2 separate regions of the Homo sapiens genome follow, and region 2 is linked to region 1. Evidence: promoter capture Hi-C in human tissues and cell types (Jung and others, 2019). All regions are on one chromosome and are shown on one strand. The core of a region is centred on a gene start or on the middle of the fragment in contact, and the rest is flanking DNA. Distances in the headings are between cores, read along the strand shown. Region 1 holds the start of EVC2 (EvC ciliary complex subunit 2). Region 2 has its middle 28 kb from the start of CYTL1.

What was found. Contacts are between HindIII fragments. The study calls those that stand out against the background at their distance.
Region 2: a contact is called between a fragment that was not itself captured here and the fragment with the promoter of EVC2 in region 1, in 1 of the 25 tissues and cell types used here (dorsolateral prefrontal cortex).

What each region holds. Positions count from the first base shown.
Region 1 is chr4:5,706,645-5,710,583 of GRCh38, reverse strand. It overlaps EVC2 (EvC ciliary complex subunit 2), which reads left to right and starts at 2,025. Exons shown (of 22, transcript NM_147127.5): 1 at 2,025-2,298. The coding sequence starts at 2,071. RefSeq lists silencers at 1,936-1,985, 2,026-2,405 and an enhancer at 1,466-2,085. The HindIII fragment of the contact is 11,868 bases long and covers 1-3,939 here.
Region 2 is chr4:4,989,008-4,992,946 of GRCh38, reverse strand. No RefSeq gene overlaps it. Among named protein-coding and RNA genes, the nearest start is that of CYTL1, 28 kb to the left of the region's middle. The HindIII fragment of the contact is 6,109 bases long and covers 1-3,939 here.

The DNA of each region.
Region 1 (3,939 bases), core at 776-3,275:
GGACCAGGACACTGCACCATCCTTCATTTACTCAGCACTTGGAGAGAATCTGTTGTGTGTGTGTTGCAGGCTGGGGGATAGGCCAGCCACAAACCAGGCAGTGTCCAGGCTAGTGAGTATCTCACAGTTGTTTAGAGTGATAAAAAATTAAAGGAGTTCATCACTGTGTTTGCTTTAAACAAACATTTATGGGGTAGCTACTAGATGTTTGCTTTTGTCCTGGGTGCCTGGGTAAAGCACACATGCACATGCACGACTGCACACTTGCACTCAGGGGCACACACACACACACACCTACCCTGTGGAGCTTAATTCCCTGTGTGGGCCGGGCTAGGGGACACCATGGGGATCTGCTTCAGCAGAGGAGGGCTTTGTCCTTTCAGCCTAGATGTCCAGCTTGTTTCTAGTTTGTTTCATCATTTCCTCATGGCAAGATGGGAACTGTTATCCAAATTCTTCATCTTTTTTTAATAAATGAAGAAACTGACAGCTGGAGAGGAGAGGTGACTCATTTGCAATTAAGGAGTGGGGCAGAATTCTTGTCTCATTTACACCTGTGTCTGGCTTCAGGGCAAACTCTCTGCTATGTGGAGCTTCTTATATATTACCTTAGAAGCATCTCCAAGGTTCCTGGGGACATGTATGGGGGCAATAACTTGACGCTCTTGTTTTACATTTCCATGAATGCTTAGGCTTTAGTTTTTAAAATGTGGTGTTTGGGCCAGGTGTGGTTGCTCACGCCTGTAATCCCAGCACTTTGGGAGGCTCAAGTGGAGGATTGTCTGAGCCCAGGAGTTTAAGACCAGTCTTGGCAACATAGTGAGACCCTGACTCCATAAAAAATACTAAGGAGATTTTTTAAATGTAGGGTTATTTGCTTTTTACTTTATCATAAAGTTGTTGACTATTAAATTAACCTTTAAATGACTGACTGTCAAACAACTCCAACGGTCCAGCAACATGCTTGGCATTTAGCCTGTGGTCTTGTCACATGCCTGACAGCTGCCACGTACCCCCTGGTGTGGGGAACTTGGCTTATAAATTCTCAGCTTCTCGAACCCCATGGCCTTGTCCATGTTAGGTCAGGAAAGGCCTGTCCTTGGATGGTCTGGGTTATGGGGAGAGAGGCTGCCAGGGGCCAGGCTCGCTGGCCTGAGACTTTATAGACAGCCTAACAGCCTGCCCCGCAGGAAGGCTGGCGGGAGTGGAGCCCTCCCCCGTCAACAGGTGTCAGCTGTCACCCAGGACCTAGGCAGGGATGAGGAAGCACACAAAAGGCTCCACCAGTCCCCCTTTTTGTGTCTTTCTCCTCCTCCTCCTCCTGCGTCCCTTGGCAAAGCAAATCCCTGTCCCCTCGGAGAGTTCAGGGAGAGCTTGCTTAGGGCTGCGACTTCAGACACCAGCTCCCCTCTTTCTAGGTCCCCAGAGAGGTGGCCCAGCGGCTGGCCTGTTTCCCACTGGGAATGCGAGGGGCACCCGGGCCGGCCCAGGGCTGACCCACAGCAGGCTCGGGCAGTGGGTGCTCAGCTGGTCTGCACTGAACGCAACCGGAAGTGAGGGTCCTTTTCCTTCTCTGCGGCCACCCCCTCCTCCCCGAGCTTTCCTGAACCTTCTGGGTGCTCCAGGACTCCCGGCCCCGCGCTCCAAATGCTTCTCCGTTTTCTAAGCGGGGATGGGGAAACTCTGGATTCACATCCGTGTGTCAGGAAACCGTTCCCAGGGGAAGTGCGTCTGAGCTGAGGCTTACAGACCCAGGTAGGCGGTAGCGGAGGGGCCCTTGGGGTCCTGGTAACCTCGGGGAGCAGGGGAGTGACCCGCTCTGATTCGGTTTGGGCGCAAGCAAACCCAGGCCTGGCCGCCGGGCGCCTGGGCCGCGCCAACTCGCTCTCCCCCTCCCACGCCCGTCCGGCACCTCCTGGCCCGCCAAGCCCCAGATGCGGGTGTTTGTTCCAGAAAACTTTCGGCGGCGGCTCGCACTGAGCATGCTCGGCGGCGGGGCGGGCCTGGGGTCCGGAAGCTCCAGCGACTCGGCGGCACCCGCCGCTTTGAGGTAGCGGGTCCCGACAGGCGATGGACCCCTCGGGCTCCCGGGGGCGCCCCACGTGGGTGCTGGCCGGGGGTCTCCTGGCAGTGGCCCTGGCGCTGGGGGGCCGAGGCTGTCTCGGCGCCAGCTCACGTCCCCGCTGGCGCCCCCTCGGCGCGCAGCCACCCCGGGATCCCCAGGTGGCTCCTAGGTCTGGGCCCGGCCTGAGGATCCCTCCGGGGCGGAGCGGGGCGGGGCCCGAGAGCAGCACGCAGGTAAGGAGGGCCCGACCCCAGGCTCCGGTCTGACTGTAGTGGTTTGACTTTGTCTACACCGGCGGTGGCAGGGAGGACCCTTAGTATTTCGCAAAGAATGAGGAAGGGAGGGCAGGATCTGAATAGGGTGCTTCGCGGCCCTTAGGTGTATCCCGCTCACGGCCAGAAAGCTTCGAGGGAAACTGGAGACCTTCCTCGGGGTGTGGCAGCTGCCGGCTTGGACTTCACCAGCGACCCTGGTTCGAATCCTGCTCTCCATTTTACGAGCTTCGACCTAGGGCAGTTCACTCCTGTGCCCCAGTTTCCTGATCGTTGAAACGGGGCCGTCGCGGCGTCCACCCCAGAGGGTGGAAGTGGGTTAGATGAGCTCACATATGCAGAGCCCCTTGCAGAGGCCAGCACTGGGAAATTGCAGCGGTTTTTAAAAGTGGGGGCTCTTGGCTGGACTCTTAGGTGACTGAACTCTCCTGGCTGATGGATTTAGCCACTTCCTACTTCACCCTGGCCCTCCCTCTGTGGTCCTAAACTCGAAAGGCATGGATCCCTGGCTGTAGCCCTAGACTTGACCTCCCCCGACAAAGCTGGTCACCAGTCCTAGTGCCTTTTCCTCCAAATCAGCTCGGATGTCTGCCCCTCCTCACTCCCCACTGCCACTCCCTGGCTTCAGGTCCCACCACTTCACTTCCAGCCCTTGGTGATGGTTTTCCCACGTCTCCCATCCATTTTCCCCCAGACCTCTGGGGTGGTCTGTCCTGGTAGACATTCTGCCACTCCTGTCCCATGCTGGCACTCTTCTCTCCACCTTATTGCCCCTGACAGCACACCCAGGCTCCTATTCCCAGGACTGCCCTGGCCAATGGTCTGGCCCATTGATGCTGCCCTGAGGTCCTCCCACCTCTCTCCTAGGGTGGTGGGTCGTGTCCTGCTGTGTTCTCTACCCCAGGACACTTGCGACACTGGCAGAGGTTTAGTCTCTTAAAAGAGACCCTGCTCCCTTTCTGTCTTTAGGTTTTCACTGGAAAAACGCCATGTCAGTGTCCTGAGCTTTCAAAAGTCCAATGACAGAACATGTTCCCTGGGTCCTTTCACTTGCATCTGCCCTGTGAGATGGGAGTATCTGGCCCGTTTTGCAGGTGACAAAACCAAGGCTCAGGGAGCCGCGTCCCCAGGCCTGTCCTGTACTCTCTCTCTGGCCCCCGAGTTCAGAGCCTGCGTGCCTGGCCTCACCTGCTTTGCACAAGCTCTTCCTTCTGGGAAGCCAGTGTCAGAAATCCTGGTGCACATTGGCCTCTGTCAGCCACAGTGGTGTTGAGGGTGGTCCCTGCCAGAAGGGAGGGACGGTGCCTACTGGGAAGGGCCTGAAGCCATCTAGGACCATGGTGGGTGTAGAGTACCTCACCCTCAAGGGCAACCCCTGCCTTTGCAGGAATCTGGGAATGAGCACCTGTATTCAGGTGCCCTTGGCATCTTGAGCACGTCCCCTGGGCCCTGGCCCTGCCCACGCCCATCCCAGCTGTTGATGGGACCAGCCTTCTTCCGTCTCTCTGGGCCTGTCTTGCATAGCCCTTCTGCACACTGTACAGGAAAGAGCTCTGGCCATGTGTGTCCCTGCCTTGGCCACTCCCTCTTGTGGGGCCTGGG
Region 2 (3,939 bases), core at 1,042-3,541, 720 kb after region 1:
GATGTGTGTGCCAAGAGGAGGGACCCCCAAACACACACCCAAATAGCCACTAGGAGCGTCAGATGAAGAATCTCGGGGTGCTCACCCTAAAACTAGGAAGACTTGGAACAGATAAAATACCCAAGAGCTGGCCGGGCACGATGGCTTAAGCCTGTAATCCCAGCACTTTGGGAGGCCGAGGCGGGCGGATCATGAGGTCAGGAGATCGAGACCATCCTGGCTAACACGGTGAAACCCCTTCTCTACTAAATATACAAAAAATTAGCCGTGCGTAATGGCGGGCACCTGTAGTCCCAGCTACTCGGGAGGCTGAGGCAGGAGAATGGCGTGAACCCGGGAGGTGGAGCTTGCAGTGAGCTGAGATCACTCCACTGCACTCCAGCCTGGGCGACAGAGTGAGACTCCATCTCGAAAAAAAAAAAAAAAAAAAAAAAAGAAAAGAAAAATACCCAAGAGCTCTGTGGCTGTGTGCCTTGCTTCCATCTGGGGCTGGAGGTGATTATTAGCTTTGTTCCAGTTGGTGCCAAAAAGTAGAATTAAGAGCACGCATGGAGGCCAGGCACAGTGGCACACACTCATAACCCTAGCACTTTGGGAGGCTGAGGCAGGAGGATCTCTTGCGTCCAGGAGTTCAAGACCAGCTTGGGCAGCATGGCAAAACTCTGTCTCTACTAAAAATACAAAAATTAGTCAGGTGTGGTAACACATGCCTGTAATCCCAGCTGAGGTGGGAGGATCGCTTGAGTCTGCAGGACGAGGTTGCAGTGAGTGGTGATGGCACCACTGCACTCCAGCCTGGGCGACAGAGCGAGGCTGGAGTCTGTCTCAAAAAAAAAAAAAAAAGAAAAAAGGAAAAAAAAAACAGCACGCACGGAAGCGAGAGCTGTCCAGGGGTGTCCAGGAATGAAATTGGCTGGCCTGGGCATAGGAGTAAGCCCCTCATCCCAGGAGCCACCAAGGAGAGACAATGTTACCTCTTGGGAAGAAAGTAGAGGGCATATCTGCATTTGAGGTTGGACAAAGTGACCTTTAGTCATCCTCCCAAAACTGCAGATTCACAAATCTGTGAATGAAATGTCCCGAGAAGGGAGCCGTGAGAAGGCCCTGAGAAGCAGCCACCCGCCCCTGCCCGGATTCCCACTCCCGTCAGGAGACACCTAAACCGAGAGAGCCAGCAGGCTTGAGGAGCCCGTGTCCACTGCCCCACTCCACAGACGGGAGCACAGAGAGTGGAGGCAGGATGGACTCACACAGCCTCACATATCTCACTCCTGCTCACTCCTGCCCAGTGGGCCGAATTCAAGACCCCTAAACGCCTCCGCTCACTCTGTTTCCTTATATTTCACTTGTGATTTTTTAAAAGGTCAGTTTATTTCCTATGATCTGCAAGAAGGCAACTGGTATGTGAAAGGGTGAGTGTGGGTGGCTGTTTCCAGTTAAACAAGAGAAAGTTTTTCTAACTGTGTCAAAACTGTGGAGGAGAGACTGGCTAGGCTTCATTAGGATCAGCCCGCGGCGCCCAGGCGCGGCTTAGTCACTGTGGCTTCCTCACTCCTCAACACTTAACCAGCATCTTTGGTCCCCCACCCCCAACCCTGACAAATCTTTAGGCTCTGCCTGGGGCTTGGTGGCAGCCGTCCGAGGTTCTCCAGCCCTTGACAAAGGTCAGTCTGTAGGCCCATCACAGCCAGAGAGCATGGAGGCTGTGCTCGGGCCCTGCTGACTCATGTGGCTGACAGCCAGCGATCCAAGGCTCCACGGGCACTGCTTTGCATCACAGGGTGTCAAGCCAGTGGCAGGGACCCACCCAGGCCAGCCAGTCTCCACTCCCAAATCCAACCCAACCCCGCCCTGCTGCAGGGCTCTCAGCCTTGGGCACTGGGGGCGTCTGGGGCCACCTAGTCCTTTGTCGGTGGTGGGGCTTTGCACTGTGGGGTGTTTAGCCACAGACCCGGCCTCCACCCACAGGATGTCAGCAGCATCACCAGATGATGGCCCAGTCATGACAGCCAAAAACGCCCCAGACATGGCCAAATCAGGGCCCAAATCAGCCCTGTGTTGAGAAGCTCTGAGCTACAGCCAACAGCATCCTCCCTCTTTGTCTTGTTTCCAAAATATTCTTGTGAGGTTCTACAGGAAAAAAGAAAAAAAATGCCTAAGTTTTTATGTCGGGATGTGGACAAGAATGGGAGGCCACAAGCCCTGGCTTGACCCCATGGAGGTCGAGGGTGTTTTACACAGGGCCATCACACATGGACATCACCTTGCTGGCACCTAGAGGCATTGACTGTGCCATCCCTAACCCAATCCAGCCCTCTCCTATCATGGAGGAAGAAAGTGCAGCCCAGAGAGGTTAAGCAACCAGCTGGAAGTCACACAGCAGGCTTAGTCATCTAACCCCCTATCCAGTGCTCTTTCACCACCCTACACCAAGCCTGGATCCAGCCAGCACTCACCAGGAGGCTAAAACTTTGCGGAGGCAAAACATCCCCTTCCAACAGGAACTCAAGACAAGGGCAGAACCTCATTTTCATGTTACAATGCTGTGAAAATGTGCAAAGTAAAATGTGGTAAAAACATGGGTTGGGGCCAAAGCGGTGGAATGAGAAAATACTGCTTGCCATGTGAGCCGGCTAATAAAAGGAAGAGCCCAGAATTGTTTGTTGCGATTATAAGGGTCATTTTTTCCCCCTATAAAAAAGAGTAATTTTCATTTACAGGGACCCCGGGCAATTTTCCATCTAATTTGATGTTTTATAATGTCTGCAGAGCCACACAACCTCAGTAGGCTGTGGGGGCCATAGACGTTTTATTTTCAGATGTTCAAGGTTATTGGTTCATCAAGAGCAAAGGGAAAATGTGACCCGGTTTTCATGAGTCCTGTTAAGAAAGAGGGCAGGGGATGGTCTGGGTGGGTGGAAATGAATTTGCTGTGAAGCCCCCAACCCTCAGTTGAGTGCCACCCCCACTCCATTAGCACCCAGAACACCAGGCTGGTAAGGCTGGGGCAGAGTCATTGCCCCAGGTGAGGAAGCTGAAGACGACACCCTGCCTCCAGTCCAGAGCACTGCGCCACCCGGCTGACCTGCCTGCACATACATGGCCCACCCGGTTCTCCTGTTAGGAGTTTTATGTATGTTTCTCGTTTAATCATCACAGAGGCCCATGGAGTGTGGGGACTGTTATTATCTCTGGTTTACAGATGAGGAAACTGGGCTTAGAGAACTTAGCTACTGGCTTGAGGCCGCCCGAACAGGAGCTAAGAGTTCTAAATCTAACTACTCTTTCTACACCGTGGCATAATCCTCTCACCGCCACTGTCATACTAGATCCTTCCTGCTCACCCAGGCCCCACCTCTTTTGGCTTCACAAGATGGGTGCATGGTAGGGGGTGTGGGATACAGAGGGTGAAGGAGACGCAGTCTTTACCCTTAGTGCTTACAGGATCGTTGGAGACTTGAGACAGCCATCCAAAACCAATCCCAATGCACAGTGCATCATGCAGGGCCTCAGTTTCCTTTTCTGTAAAATGGGCATGACACCACTGATTTGACGGCAAGGTTAGGAGGCTTCGATGAGATAACACCATTGGGAAAAAACTTGGTCTTGATAACAAGGATTGCTCCTGTCTTGCTGAGACAGCAAAAGAAAGAAGGAATTATGGGAGTAAGGACTAGAGACGGAAGGTGAGAAAAGACGGAGCGAGGAGGAATCAGGAATGGAAGCAGAGAAGCACAAGGACAGCTGAGAGAAGAGCACAAGGTAGGGTGCCCATGGCTGGGCTTTTACTGCGCACTCAGTGTGTACCAGGCCTCGGGCTGGGTGCTTTACGTGCATAAAGCCATTCAATTTCCAACAGGGAGAGTGGAGGCGATTATTTCTACTTTACAGAGGAACCCTCTACTGCGTGACATGGGCATGGACCACAACCCAAAGGTT